2 separate regions of the Homo sapiens genome follow, and region 2 is linked to region 1. Evidence: promoter capture Hi-C in 16 types of primary human blood cells and fetal thymus (Javierre and others, 2016). All regions are on one chromosome and are shown on one strand. Each heading gives the region's core, a stretch centred on a gene start or on the middle of the fragment in contact. The rest is flanking DNA. Distances are from core to core; before and after follow the strand shown. Region 1 holds the start of SF3B2 (splicing factor 3b subunit 2). Region 2 overlaps PACS1 (phosphofurin acidic cluster sorting protein 1).

Region 1 (7,931 bases), core at 1,942-4,441:
TTCAGCGAATGATCTCCCTGCTTAAAAAAGAAAACAAGTTCATACCAGCACCAATACCCAACACGCCAATCTGCCACAACTCTTGCTTCTTGAGATCCTCTTCCAGTCAAGGGCCCATGTTCCAATCTTTAGTCCCGACCTTCCCAGAAGCCTTAGTTCTAGGACCCAGCTTTCTCTAAGGCTCCACTGCCCCTTCAGGGACCTAATGAGTCCAAGGCCAGGGCTGCCACCTGCCCTACCTGCTTGGCACGCTCCTCCTGCTGCATCAGCAATGCCGCCTGCTGCTGAGCCAACTTCAGCCGCTCCTCCTCTGACAGTGCCACTGGCTCACCCACACGGAGAGGAGGCGGGGGCCCCAAATTTGGTGGGTGGGCCATAGGAAAGCCAAGGCCAAGGCCTGGTGGAGGTGGTGGGGGTGGCGGAGGAGGCTGCAGAGGGGGGAGTCCCAAAGGTGGTGGTGGCATGGGAATTCCAGGGAGCTGTGGAGAAAATATGATCATAAAACTAGGAAGCATTTATCTACTCATTCTGCAAATATCTGGGGGATCTACTTTGAGTCAGGAGCTGGAATTCTAAGTCAAATGATACATAGTTACCACTCCATAAGAGAGAATGCTCCACAGCTCTATAAAGATATGAGAATGTTAACTTCTGGCACCAACCAAAGGAAGCTATCCACTCTCTCCAAAAAGATATCCTGAATATAGATTCTGCATACAATTCTAGGAGACTCAAAGACGCCTCTGAGGCCATCTAGGGACTCCTCATCCTACACACAGAGATCAGTAGATGCCAGGTCAGAGCCACTGCTTTAGAGAAAATGAGGCAAATCCTGGATCAGAAGGAACATGGAAATTGAGAGGACTTACATAAACAGGAACCACTGTATCTGGGCAATGCAAACCCCAATGACTACTAAACGCAAGGGGTGTGAAATCAAATCAGGGAGCCCTCGATGTCACACAAAAGAACATGGGAACTGTGCCTGGGGCAGGCAAAGAAAAGGGTGATTGCTTCCAGCTGGGTAAGGACAAGTCAGTCTTCCTTGTATTCAAGCTGTATTTTTTTTTTTTTTTTGAGACAAGAGTCTCGCTCTGTCACCCAGGCTGGAGTGCAATGGCGCAATCTCAGCTCACTGCAACCTCCGCTTTCCAGGTTCAAGCAATTCTCGTGCCTCAGCCTCCCAAGTAGCTGGGATTACAGGCACCTGCCACCATGCCCGGCTAATTTTTATATTTTTAGTAGAGACAAGGTTTCACCATGTTGGCCAGGTTGGTCTTGAACTCGTGACCTCAAGTGATCGCCCACCTCAGCCTCCCAAAGTGCTGGGATTACAGGCATGAGCCACCATGCCCTGCCTCTTTTTTTTTTTTTTGAGACAGTCTCGCTCTATTGCCCAGGCTGGAGTGCAGGGGCTTGATCTTGGCTCACTGCACCGTCCACCTCCAGGGTTCAAGTGATTCTCCTGCCTCAGCCTCCCAAGTAGCTGGGATTACAGACATGTGCTACCACGCCCAGCTAATTTTTGTATTTTTAGTAGAGAGAGTTTCGCCATGTTGGCCAGGCTAGTTTCAAACTCCTGACCGCAGGCGATCCACCTGCCTTGGCCTCTCAAAGTGCTGGGATTACAGACATGAGCCACCACGCCCTGCCTCTTTTTTTTTTTTCCTATTTTTTGGTTTAATTTTATTTTATTGTAAGTTTTCGGGTACATGTGCAGTATGCGCAGGTTTGTTACATAGGTAAATGTGTGCTATGGTGGTTTGCTGCACCTATCAACCCACTGCCTAAGTATTAAGCCTGGCATGCATTAGCTATTTTTTCTGACACTCTCCCAGCCCCTCCCCCATCACCTCCCCCCTTTTTTTTTTAAAGAAGCAAAGTCTCATTCTGTCACCCAGGATGGAGTACATGGAGTACAGTGGCGCAACCAGAGCTCACTGCAGCCTCCAACCCCAGGGCTCCAGCAATCCTTGAGCCTCTTTATAGGGACTTTATAGGCGCGTGCCACCGTGCCCAGCTAATTTTTAAAATTTTTTGTAGTAACAGAGTCTCACTATGTTGCCCAGGCTGGTCTCGAACTCCTGGCTTCAAGCGATCGTCCCATCTAAGCATCCCGAAGTGGTGGGATTACAGGCATGCGCCACTGCACCCGGCCACAAGCTGCTTTTGGAGAAGCAGACAGTGGAAAAGGAGGCAAGTGTCAGCATCAAAGAGAGAACTGAAGAGCTCACAATTCTGTCATGGCAGTACCTCCCTGCCCAACAACTGCAAGTGAGAGGAAGGGCTACCCTGAACATATGGAATCTTTTTTTTTCCCCACTCAGGTCAGGCGAGTAATGTGCAAGGGTGTCACATCTCACACATGCACGTGAACACCCAATCATCATGCTCATGAACTACAAAAGGATCAGCAGATGGAATCTTAAAAAACAGAAGAATCTCCCTACCTGTGCCGACATGGGAGGTGGAGCGGCTTTGTCCCCATCTTCCCCTCTCAAAACCGGCCGATTCAGCACGATGCCAGTCTGCAAAAGAGAAAGGACTCTAGGTCAGTCCAAAACTAGCTGTTTCACTAAACGACGTTCGCTCCCAATTCATTCAACAAAACGTACCCAGTGCCTGTCTGCCAGCGCTCTGGCTGGGCACTGAAGAGGACCAAGATGGATACAAGAAATTACAACTAAGCTGGCAAAGGCAAGAACAAGCTAAAAAGGGCAAGCCTCCGCCTTGCTGTGCCGAGATAAAGAAAGAATGAAGACCGAGCCGTGATGGGGTATATAAGGTCTCCTGGAGAAGCTCGGCCTATCCTGACGTCCCGCCGCCAACACCTACCTGGCGGGTGTAGCTCTGCAGCCGCTCCACCAGCTCCTCGCGATTACCTGCAGGGCAAAGTACACGATCAATGGGGCAGGCCAGCCCGGCCAGGTCAGGCCCCAGCGGCCTGCCTCCGCCCCTCGCACCCGAGTCTCCCGGGTAACCAGGCTCCGCTTCTCCGCAGGCCCGTAAAGGCCCCTCGACTTCCTGTGTTCCTCACCCTGGATCGGAGCTCCGATCTCTGCCAACTTGGCCTGAAGCTCCTGGGCAGCCCAGGCGCCATAGTGGCCTGGAGGTGGCGGCGGCGGCAGCTGCAATTCTGCTTTGGGAGGCTCGGGATGCTCCGTCGCCATCTTAGCCGCAGGAAGGCGCGCGACCAACCCGGAAGCTGGGGCCAGCCTCAGGGCCCACTTGCCGGAACTTCCGGTGGCGCCGTATGCCACGTCCTCTCTGGTTGGGAGGCGACGCGCACTCAGGCACACCCGCTGCCGTGCGCTGGGCGACGGGATTCGCCGCAGACGCACCTTTCTCTAGTGGCCCCTCGGCGGTCTGGTCGCGAGGCCTCCTGGGAGTTGTAGTGCGCAGGTCTCGGTCTCTGCGGGCCCTGCGCGCCGCTACGGCCCCGAAGGCCGGCGGCGGGCCGGAGGGCGGGGCTGCGAGGAGGGCTGGCACTTCCCCGAGGGAGTGTTTTCTGCGCCTCACCTGCGGGAGCGAAGGCTCTCAAGCTTTCCGGCCCGGCCCTCCGGTCAGATCCTCGAACGCTTACGCTCCCAGGGAGTCCCGAGAGACTCATTTCCCCGGCGGCCCCGCGTTGCGGGCGCCAAGCGGGAGGCTGGAGCCGATGCCTGGGATAAAACAGTGTCTGATTGTCTGCCCGCCCACCCCCGGCCCAGGCCCGGATGAATGGGCTGAAAGGGGATCCAAGCCGGGAGAGCAGCAGGCCTGCCCGGGCTGAGCTCCAGCTGCCGACCTGGGGGAAGGGCGACTCTAAAGCCCCCTTTTCCACCTTCCAGGCCGGCTCAAATGTCGTCTTCTCCACTAAGCCTCCTCCCGCTTTCCTTTCCTTTCTTAGAGCTCCCATAATACGTTCGAATCTCCACCGTTTGTTAAGTCTTTCTTGCCCTTTCTTCCTACCTCTATCCCAAAAATGTGAGCAGGGACTTGATCATTTTCAGTCTCGCATCGCCTGGCGTTCAAGAGGCGCCCAATAAATGATTACTGGAAAAAAAGGAACAATGTTTCTGGTGAAAGCATTTGTGTCTTTTTTAGTCTCAAAAATAAACTCAGGCCCTTTTCCCTCAGCCGCACCTGCACTGGGGGCCCCACCTTGCCTCCCACTCCCCACCCCAACTCCCCTTGGCCTTTGGAGACAGAGGCAGAGACTGGCAGGGATTCTTGCCTGCCTAGCATCCACCTCTCCCTGTCCCACACCATCAATTCAGTTTCTCTCCCCACCTCTGCCACTAGCTCTGCCCTCTCACCAACAGCTAGCCTGTGTGTGTTTTTTATGTGTGTTGAGAAAGGGAGTGGGGAGACTCAAGTGAAATGGTCTCATTTTCCCCCTACACATCCCCTTCAGATCTTTTCTCCAGCTCCATTTTGCCAACTGCCCCCAGTGGAGAAGAAGCTGGGAACAGGGAAAAAAAAAGAATGGGGCACCAGGTCGGGGGAAGGTGAGGTTTGGGAGAGACAGGGAAAAGGACTGGGTTGAGAAAGGTTGGCTCACATCCTAGCACTGGGTGGGAAGTCCTCTTCCTCCTACCCAAACCTTGACCTTTCCCCTTTCCATCAATATCACTATGGGAGGCTCCTGCAGCCACACTCCCAGAGGAGAAGCCAAACCCGGAAAGGACAGTAACGAAGACAGAAAAACAGCGCCCTTCCCTCCAGCTTGTCAGCCCACTCAGGCAGAACCTTTCTAGCCCAAAGGAAGGCTCTTCTGCTCCCTGTAACTGGAGAGCCCAGGGCAGGTCATCTGAGGCTGAGGGCCCCAAGGCATGTGTAGGTGCTAGGGAAGGGGGCGGGGTCTCTGAGGCAGGATAAACTAAAGGCTGATGGAGTCTCATTTTATTTATTTATTTTTTATTTATTTATTTATTTTTTTTTTTTTTTGAGACAGAGTCTCAGTTGCCCAGGCTGGAGTGCAGTGGCTCTATCTGCGCTCACTGCAAGCTCCGCCTCCTGGGTTCACGCCATTCTCCTGCCTCAGCCTCCCGAGTAGCTGCGACTACAGGCGCCCGCCACCACGCCCAGCTAATTTATTTGTATTTTTTTTAGTAGAGACGGGGTTTCACCGCGTTAGCCAGGATGGTCTCGATCTCCTGACCTCGTGATCCGCCCGCCTCAGCCTCCCAAAGTGCTGGGATTACAGGCGTGAGCCACTGCACCCGGCCTGGAGTCTCATTTTATAACAGCCCTGGGAAGGAGGCAAGGTCTCAAGATCCTCCTCCCCCACGATATTGTACACAGCGGAAGATTGATGGGCAGAGAAGGTGACATGCCCAAGAGGCCAAACTGGGGCCACCAGCAGTCCTTCTGACTCTGAGAGTCCCTATTTCCTCCTCCTCAACCATAACAAGGACCCTCACACTATTTCCTATGTGGGCCTAGAAGGGCGTATCCAGCCCCTTCCAGTCCCACCTTTGGGTGGCTACCCAGCTCCAGGATCCTTGCTTTACCAGGCCCAGAGCAAAATAGAAAGCAGGTGTGCAGGCCAGCCACAGAACTCAGTGTAGGGCTCTTGATGTCTGGCATGGCTTTGGGAGGTGCTGCTGCCCAGCTCCCAGGTGATGGGAGCTGAGGACTAAGAAGTTCACATGGAGCCTTCGTGTGTATTATCTCTGCTACCTCAGAACAGCTTCCCATTTTACAGCTGGAAGCAATAGGGCTTAGGGAGTTGCCTCTTGACTCTGGGATTTAAGAGCAAACCAGGATTGAACTTGGGTTCTTTGATGCCTGGTGGCAGGTGCCTAGGCAGGGGTCCCAGCCTCACTATAGCTCTGGTCAGGAGTGAGTGGGTCTGGAGTCCTAGTGAGGAAAAATGGGTGAGCAGCCAGAAGCTACATCAGAGGGTATGGGGGACACGCTGGAAGGGAAGGGGGCATGTGGGCAGAGATGGGACCAGACAAGGCTGGAGCACTGCTTCTCTACTGGAGGAGGACAGAGGATGTGAGTACCTGCACGTGTACCAGCATCTGGCTCACCCAGAAGCCCACGTATGACCGGCGGTGCCCCAGAATACCCAGCAATGCAGGAGTATCCAGACACCTTCCCGGCCTCAGTTTCCCTGCCTGAGTGAGAGAAGGGAGCTGGCCACATTAGTGTCCAACTCTGCAAGGTTGCCAGAGTAAGACAACTGCATCTGAAGATGCCACCCAGAGACTGTTCACGGCAGCCAGCGGGCAAGCCAGGGAACCACCCCCCCTCCCCCGTCCCCCTTCCTTTCCCCTCTCTCCCCTCTCCCCTACTTGCTCGTGGCCTGGCCCCGCCCCTCGCCTTCCTCCGGTGTGCGATGGGGGGCGGGGGGCGGGGGGCGGGCAGAGCCGGGAGGAGCGAGCCTAGCGGACGCTGCCACCTGATCCCATCCAGGCGCTGAGAGGCAAGCCACCGGCACTCGGCGCGCAGGGCCCCGGGCACCCTCGGACCCCGTGCGGATTTCGAGACAAGGGTCCAGAGATAGCGGCGGCCGCCCCCAACCCGGGCCAGAGGCAGAGCCCAGGCGTGCGGTGTGAGTACTGCAGTGGCCGGCATGGGGTTGGAGGGGTGGGAGTGGACCAGACCGGGATGGGGGCCGAGAGGCGGGCGGGAGAGTGTCTTGGGGGCCTAGTGGTTGGAAAGCATGAGGAGGGGGGCGCTCTACCCCTGGAAAGTGGGAGAAGATAGGGTGAGCGGGCCAATCTGGCCTATCCCCTATGGTGATCAGATCCCACTGGCAGGATCCCTGGGGGATGCTGGGATGAAATTGAGGGAGTGGGAGGTATGGTGCGGGTGGGCAGTAATGGAGACAGGAGGATGGAGGGAATTCCAAGGCAGGGATGATGCGGGGGTGGATGAGAGAGAGAGGAGGCTGGGGGGCCAGGGGCAGACCTGGTGCAGGCTGGGGGGTGGGGGAGGAGGAAAAAGAGGGAGGTGGAAAGATTTGCTCTCCCAGGCCAGTACTTTGCAGACCCCCTCAGCCCTTCGCCCCTCCTCTGGAGCACCCTGGGTCAGCGTCCCTCAACACTGGGCTGTCCCATCCCTCAAGTCAGGACAGGATGGAGTCTCCGGGCCATCCAGCAGTCAGGTCCAAGTGGTCCAGTCCAGGGCACCCCTTCCTCTAAGTGCATCGGTTTCAGCTCTAGAGCTCAGAGGAGACAGAGGAGAAAGGGCTCCTTTAGGAGGGTGGGCACCCCGGCCCATTTTCAAAGCTTTGGTCGGCTCTACTATTTCTTTGGTTCCCTGGAGAAAAGCTAGCAATTTGCAAAACTGGGCAGCAGCGTGAGGTAGATTGTTCTGACTAAAATTAGCACTGACATTCTGATGAGCCTGGGCGTCCTGACCTGCCTGGGATAGCTGGGAGAACTCTCTCTATGGAGAAGACACCAGGCACAATGGGGAGTCGTGTGAAGCATCTGAGGGCAGGAGCCAGGGCCACTGCTCTAAAGCACAGCTCCAGCAGCACCATCATGCACCCCACACCAGCCAGAAAATCCGATGGAAACCCAGCCCAGTGGCCCCCTCCCTGAGAGGCACTGCCTTGGCCCCATCTCCAAAACAGGCATCTTGGAGTCAAATTGCCAAGGGAAGGCAGGCCTCCCACAGTGTCCGAGCAGCACCCTCTCTCAGGACCTGGAATGTTTAGCCTGGCCGAGTGCCCACCCAGAGGAGACAGGGTTACTGCTTCCAAATACCTGAAGGTCTGTCATGGAGAAAAATGTTCTATGTGCTCTAGGAGGGCAGCACTACCAAGAGTGCAGAATGGGAGGTGTAAGGGGCAGGCCGAAGCAGGTGCTACCACTGGCAGGGTAATCCTGGCTGTCCCGGAAAGAACCTGAACAAGCTGTAAGTTGCTCAGAAATGGACCAGGCTGTATCAGGAGGTGATGAACACCCTGTCATTGACAGTGGCCATACAGA
Region 2 (7,931 bases), core at 2,002-4,501, 120 kb before region 1:
AAAAATATAGGGAAATTTAAACAAACATTGCTTTTATAAAACAAGAATGGCAATGTCTGATTTACGCACAGTAAACGGTACGGCAAGCGTGGTGGGAGGAACTGACTGAATTAAAGCATTTTTTAGGGCCTTTAATTGTTTCAGAAGAGAATGGAAATTGACTAACTTTAAACTCTTAAGTATTCACATTCAAAGCTTGAGAGTAAACTAAGAAAATAAAAGTTGAATGTCTATCTTTCGAATGCATAGTTTAGAAAAATGGAATGAGGCCGGGCGCGGTGGCTCAAGCCTGTAATCCCAGCACTTTGGGAGGCCGAGGCGGGCGGATCACAAGGTCAGGAGATCGAGACCATCCTGGCTAACATGGTGAAACCCCGTCTCTACTAAAAATACAAAAAATTAGCGGGGCGTGGTGGTGGGCGCCTATAGTCCCAGCTACTCGGGAGGCTGAGGCAGGAGAATAGCGTGAACCTGGGAGGCGGAGCTTGCAGTGAGCCGAGATTGCGCCACTGCACTCCAGCCTGGGCGACAGAGCGAGACTCCGTTTCAAAAAAAGAAAAGAAAAGAAAAGAAAAATGGAATGAGAGAAAAACCACCAACGAATTCAAAAGGAGACAAAGAAGGCTAAAGAGTCATCCAGAAATAGAGACACCGCCCCCCCAAAAAAAGAACAAATAGAAAGCATAAGTTAAGATGGCAGAAAAAAACACCTATGGATATCAATAGCCACAGTAAGTATAAATATATTAAACTCCTAAGGTAAAAGATATAGATTAGATTTATAAAACAAAACCTACTTATATGTTCTTCATAAGATTCACCTAGAATAAGACTAGAAAGTTATACCAGATATATAATAATCAAAAGAAAGCTGGAATAGATAATATTAGACAAAATAGAATTACTAGAGAGAGAATCATCAGGAAGAAAATTCTAGACCTATATAAACTTAATAAAATGTCTTAAAAATAAATACCACAAAAACTGACAAAAGTATAAGACAGTGACAAGCTTACTTATCAGAGGGGCATATTTTAACATACCTCTCTTAGTAATTGATAATTAAACAGAAAAAAATGCTAACATTACCAATATTCAAACGAACACATGAAATCCGGAACCCCACAACAAGAGAATACACAATCTTTTCAAACATACATAGAATGTTTTCAAAAACTGATCTTGTATTTAGGTATAAAGTAAGTTACCAACAAATTTCCTTTTTTTTTTTTTTTTGAGACAGGGTTTTTTTCTGTCAACCAGGCTGGAGTGCAGTAGCACAATCTCGGCTCACTGCAATCTCTGCCTCCCAAGTAGCTAGGACTAACGTGCATGCCACCACACCCTGCAAATTTTTTTTTTTTTTTTTTTCCAGAGATGAGGTTTCATCATGTTGCCCAGGCTGGTCTCGAACTCTTTGACTCAAGCTATCCACCTGCCTCAGCCTCCCAAAGTGCCAGGATTACAGGCATGAGTTACCATGCCCACCCAGCCTTTACCAATAAATTTCAAAGAATCAGTAATATGAGAACTACTTTTTCTCATTAAAATGCAATTAAATTAGAAATCAGTAATAAGAAGATAACTTTAAAGATAATGCATTTGAAAGTATAAAAACAACCCTGTAAAGAACTCATGGGTCAAAGAAGAAGTTATAATATAAATCAGACAATATTCAGAACCAAACACTAAAATATGACGTATCAAAACTTTGCTATGCCATTAAAGCAGGTATTAGGGGAAACTTTATTTTATTATTTTTTAAAGGAAACAACAGCTTTAAGTAGTTATATGAGAAAAGAAGAAATGCTGAAATTAATGAATTAAGCAGCCATTAAGAAGTAAAAAATAAAGGGACAGCCAAATAAGCCTAAAAATCTAAAAGAAAGCAGGATAAAAGCAAATTTCACAGAATAGAAAGCATATATATATTAGTCTTAAGAGGCTAATAAAATCTAGAAACCTAGAATTGTTTTTCAAGGAGCATACTCCAGATTAAGCGAAGATTCATAAGACTACACTATGCCACAAACCACTTTATGCAAGTAAAGCTGGAAACTTAGATGAAAAAGGTAGATTTCTAGAAACATATAATTTAACAGAAATTATTAAGGAAGCTAGAGAATACCTGAAAGTTTCTACAACTATTAAAGACAGTGGTCAGTAGTTTAAACTCTTCTGAAAATGAGAACACCAAGTCCAGATTATCTTCACAGGCAAATTCTACCAAACGTTCAAAGAAAATATCATTTTAATCTTATATACATTCTTCCAGAGGATCAAAAGGAGGAAACACTTTCCAATTCATTTCATAAAATTAACATAACCTCAGTACCCAAGAAAGAAAAATAATTAGCCAATCTCTTTTATGATCAGTAATGAAAAATTTTAAAACAAAATATTAGCAAAACAAATAATGTATTTAAAAAATAGCCGGGCACAGTGACTCACACCTGTAATCCCAGCACTTTGGGAGGCCAAGGCAGGTGGATCACAAGGTCAGGAGTTCGAGACCAGCCTGGCCAACATGGTGAATGAAACCCCATCTCTACTAAAGATACAAAAAAAAAAAAAAAAAATTAGCCGGGCGTGGTGGCACACACCTGTAATCCCAGCTACTCAGGAGGCTGAGGTAGGAGAATCGCTTGAACCTGGGAGGCAGAGGTTGCAGCGAGCCAAGATTGAGCCACTGCATTCCAGCCTGGGTGGCAGGGTGAGACTCTGTCTCCAAAAAAAAAAAGTAATGAACCAGTTAGATTTAGATTTATTTCAGGAATGTAAAGATGCTTTAACATTAGAAAACCAATGCCTGTAATCTTCATCATTAACAGATTAAAGGACAAAATATATTATCATTTCAACAGATTTATATCAAGCATTTGGTAAAACTCAACATCCATTTATGATAAGTCCTCTTAGCAAACTTGGAATAGAATACATTCCTTGACATAAAAGATACACATCAGAAATCTACAGCAAACACTTTAATAGTGAAACATTAGAATGTTCTCTTAAAAACTAGGAATAAGACAAGGTGTTCACCAGTCCCACTTTTATTCAAGGTTATACTGTTGTCAAGACTAGCTATTTGAGAAGGCTGTTCAGCTAAAAGCAAAAAAAGACCAGCTCAGTAAAAGAACAAAAAAGACATAAAAATATGAAGTTTGAAATGGAAGAAACAAAAGCCATTATCTGCAGGTTGATTTATGATAGCCCATTTGGGAAATCCAGAAGAATTCTCATTATTAGGATTAATGAGAGATTAACCAGGTTGCTAGATTTCTGAAACTCAAATGCATTTCTAAACACCAGCAACAAAGAATTTAAAAATGTAAAATTAAAAAATGTAAATGTGTGTAAATGTATACACACACACACACACACACACACACATATATATATATACTATTTAGGAAGCAACAAAAAATAAGACACCTAGGGATAAAACAAAATAATAGCAACAGCTACCAACAACTGAGCATTTACTATATGCCCCTATGAAGTAGAAATATTAGCGCCTATTTTACAGATGAGGAAAATGAGGCACAGAGAGGCTGACTTGCCCAAGATGACATTGTAAGCAGCTAGGTGAGGATTGAAACCAACAGGATTGAAACCCAAGATGACACCGTAAGCAGCTAAGTGAGGACTGAAACCAGGCAGCCTGGTTCCGAAGCCTTTGCTCTTAAAACCACTACTCTACGCTGTCTCTACACTGTCTCGCTCCATAAGATGTGCAAGACCTGCATGGAGTTGTAAGTTATACTGTACGTATACAAATGTCATTGTAAGACAAAAGAGATGCCATGTTCATGCACAAGAGACACTCTAGCATTGATACGTTGATTCTCCTCCAAATTGATATAAAAAATTAATACAACACCGATCAAAATTCCAACAGGATTTTCCACAGATGCTAATTCTAAAATTTATAAGGAGGAGCAGGCCAGGCATGGTGGCTCATGCCTGTCATCCCAACACTTTGGGAGGCCAGGGTGGGCAGATCAGTTAAGCCCAGAGTTCAAGATCAGCCTGGGCAACATGGCGAGACCCCATCTCTACAAAAAATTTTTAAAAAGTAGCCAGGCATGGTGGTGGCATCCAGTTACTTGGGATGCTGAGGTGGGAAGACTGCTTGAGTCTGGGAAGTTGAGGTTGCAATGAGCCATGATCACACCACTGTAAGACACTCCTGAAGAAAAGAAACAAGGTGGGGAAATTAGGCTATCAGGTATCTAGATTTACTGTAAAGAAACAGTAGTTGAAGCACTATGGTATTAGTGAAGGAACAACAAAAAGATCAATGAAACAGAATAGAGTGCCCAGAAATAATCCCACAATCATGCAGAAACAATATAAGAAAAAGGCAGTATTTCAATAACTGGGAAAAAAAATAAACTATGAAATGCAAAAAAGGAAAGTTGGATCCACACCTCACACCATACATAAAAATAGTCTTCATGTAGCTTAAATACTTATATGTGAAAGGCAAAATTTTAGAATATTGGACAATATTTTTATGACTCTGAGGTAAGAGTAGATTTCTAAAAATAAGACATTGAAAACAATGAGAAATCCAACTATATTAAAATTAGGAATTTCTATTCATCAAGAGACACCAAAAAGAGACTCAAAGGACAAGCCAAAGGCAGCTGTGGTAGCTCATGCCTGTAATTCCAGTACTTTGGGAGGCAGAGGTGGGAGGATCAGTTGAGGCCGGGAGTTCAAGTTCGAGGTTGCAGTGAGCTATGACTGCACTCCAGCCTGGATCACAGAGTAAGACCCTGTCTCAACAAAAAAAAAAAAAAAAAAGACAAGCCAAAGCCATGAACCCAGAGAAGACTGAAACTCCTAATACTGACAAAGGGAAAGAACTATAAGTCAGTAAGAAAAAGACTGACAAATCAATGGAAAAGTGGGCAAAAGACATGAACAGACGCTCCATGTTTCCGGAAGAGGAAACACTAATGGATAATAAATATACAAAAATATGCTCAAATCATTAGGAATCGGGGAAATGCAAATTGAAATCAAAATACCATTTTACACCCACAAATTTGGCAAAACTAGGTGTGTGTGAAGATGCGGCACGATGGGAACTCATATGCTGCTGGTGGGAGTATCAACTGGTACAATCACTTCAGAAACTATTAGGCATCATCTTTTGAGGCTAAACATATGTGAAGTCCATGATCCAGCAATTTCACTCATTACCAGATGACAAGGGTAAGTTACTCATCTTCCTATGTCTCTGCTCCCTCATCTGAAAAATGAGCATCGTAATAATACCAACTCATAGGGTTGCTCTTAGTGCCCATATATATAAAAGCACTGAGAACACTGCCTGGCCCATTATAAGTTCCTTATATACTAGACAATATTTGCACTGTTCTCATCAGAACCCAAGTGTACACTGTCAGAGGAGTAGACAAACCTGTAAATTCACACAATCAAAAGCGATCCAGCAATGAAAGTGAATGAACTAAGCTTAAGCTGCAGAAGACTACCTATAATATTGTACTATATCAAATTCAAAACCAAGCAAAAATAAACGATTAATTGTGCAGGGAAATACATATAGAGTAAAACTTTAAAAAAGAAGATGAAACCTAAATAAAGTGAGGCTGGGATATTTGAAGGAAACAAGGCAAGGATGTCTAGTGCATGGCAAATGACGACAGCTGTAAGATGTGACATCAGGCTGTGCATGGTGGCTCACGCCTGTGATCCCAGCACCTTGGGAGGCCAAGGCAGGTGGATCACCTGAGGTCAGGAGTTCGAGAGAGCCTGGCCAACATGGTGAAACCCCATCTCTACAAAAAATACAAAAATTAGCTGGGTGTAGTGGCGGGCACCTGTAGTCCCAGCTACTCGGGAGGCTGAGGCATGAGAATTGCTTGAACCCGGGAGGCAGAGGTTGCAGTGAGCCGAGACCATGCCATTGCACTGCAGCCTGGGTGACAGAGTAAGACTCTGTCTCAAAAACAAAACAAACAAACAAACAAAAAGATGTGAGGTCAGAGGCAAACGGAGCCTGGACTATGCAGTAGGGACCTTTATTTTGTTTATGATGGAAAGCCACTGAAGAATTATAAACAAAGGGGTGATAGAAAATGATTTGTGCAAGATCGCCCTGCTGCTAGGTGAATAATGGACAAAGAAAGGGGAGAGTGGAAACAGGAAAACCAGTTAGGAGGCTGTGGCGTGGCCCAGGAAAGGCAGGAAGAAGTTTGTTCTGAAGCAGTAGTAAAGCTGGATTTAAGTGTGGAACTCAGGAACACTGATAGAACTGACGGGTCTTGCTGATGATGAACTGAAGCAGGAGGATCCTTTAAGCCCAGGAGTTCAAATCCAGCCTGGGCAACATAGTGAGATCACTGTCTCTTAATACATATATATATTTTACCCTTAATACATATATATATAAATACCCACAGGGTATGGGGCAAATAGAAAAACTCCAATATGTTTCTGGGCTTTTGGCTTGAGCAACAGGGTGGATGGATGGTGGTGCTGTTTAATCAGACAAAGGAGACTGGGAGAAGTTTTGGGGTAAATAGGGCAGAAAAGTCAGGACATGCAAGTTTGACACATCTTAAATATCTGAGTAGAAAACTGAATTACTATTAGGCCAGCTGCTTATGAGTTTTGATCTCAACGGAAAGATCAGCCTAGAGAGACAGATTTAGGAGTCGAGGCATAGAGATGGTATTTAAAGCAATGGGATTGGCTAAGATCTTCCAGAGGAGAGTTCAGGTAGAAAAGAGAATAGGCCAAGAATGGGACCCTGGGTATTCCAAGGCTTAGAAGTCTGGCAGAGGAGAAAAGTTCAGCAAAGGAAACTGAGGAGCTGCCGATGAGGGAGGAAAACCGGAAGGACACGCCTTCACAACTTAGAGAAGAAAGTGGTCCAGAAGATGTGTCAGATGCTGCCGAAGAGTGGAATAAGCTGAGAACAGAAAACTCATCACCGGATCTGGCAGAATGAAGAATACTGGTGACTACAATAGTAGACATTTCAGTGGAGCAGGAAAAACATTTGACTAAAGGATCTTTCCTTCTTAGGAAGACAATCAGTTGCAGATGAAAGTGAGGACAGAGGACAAGATTTCAAGCTGCAATAAAGGGCATGCTGTACAGCAGAAGGAACCTGTACCTGCAGCTTGGTCTCCACACTGGCCAGCAGTAAGGCCACCAACTCAATTTCTAGCACAGCTTGTTAAGATGTTGGGACCACATGTTCTCTAAGATCTCTTGTGGTTCTGAGGATTCCCTGTTAAGAGAGAAGTGAAGTTTCACCTGAGAATATAGGGAAGAGATGTGAAGGGGGACCTGAATGTAATGTCAACAAACTATAAACAATGTTTTAAAACTGTTATTTAAAAAAAATTTTAGAAGGCCAGGTGCGGTGGCTCACACCTGTAATTCCTGCACTTTGGGAGGCTGAGGCAGGAGGATCACTTGAGCTCAGGAGTTCAAGACCAGCCTGGGCAACATAATGAGACTTCGTCTTTACAAAAAAAAAATACATATATATATGTATTATATATTATATAATACATATATAAAATATATATATGTATTAAGAGACAGTGATCTCACTATGTTGCCCAGGCTGGATTTGAACTCCTGGGCTTAAAGGATCCTCCTGCCTCAGCCTCCCCAGTAGCTGGGACTATACTCACAAATGAAAAAAATTTTTTTTTTAATAGATCTGATGTCACTCTAGAACTACATACAGGACAAATGACATAGCACACAAGTGCCCAGAAAGGTTCAATTATGTCCTACCATATCATTACCCCAGGGTCACTGTGCTATTTTTGAAATCATATAGATCAGGAGTTGATCTGTATCTCCTCTGTAACGAGACTTGAGTGATGAACTGAAAAACGCACATGGAAGAAATCATTAACTCTGTAGAGTTCGAA

Evidence for each region. Contacts are between HindIII fragments. The CHiCAGO score rates a contact against its expected background, and 5 or more counts as called.
Region 2: a contact is called between a fragment that was not itself captured here and the fragment with the promoter of SF3B2 in region 1, in 1 of 17 cell types (naive B cells). The highest score is 5.1, in naive B cells.

The regions. Positions count from the first base shown.
Region 1 is chr11:66,047,624-66,055,554 of GRCh38, reverse strand. SF3B2 (splicing factor 3b subunit 2) reads right to left here and starts at 3,191. Exons shown (of 22, transcript NM_006842.3): 1 at 3,038-3,191; 2 at 2,836-2,882; 3 at 2,451-2,528; 4 at 240-479; 5 at 1-20. The coding sequence starts at 3,170. SNORD13F (small nucleolar RNA, C/D box 13F) reads right to left here and starts at 2,411; the gene lies at 2,327-2,411. GAL3ST3 (galactose-3-O-sulfotransferase 3) reads left to right here and starts at 6,394. Exons shown (of 3, transcript NM_033036.3): 1 at 6,394-6,544. RefSeq lists enhancers at 2,984-3,153, 3,774-3,823, 3,642-4,193 and a silencer at 3,364-3,573. The HindIII fragment of the contact is 3,706 bases long and covers 1-3,544 here.
Region 2 is chr11:66,164,215-66,172,145 of GRCh38, reverse strand. The region is part of intron 1 of PACS1 (phosphofurin acidic cluster sorting protein 1); the gene reads right to left. Among named protein-coding and RNA genes, the nearest start is that of KLC2, 90 kb to the left of the region's middle. The HindIII fragment of the contact is 4,476 bases long and covers 1,014-5,489 here.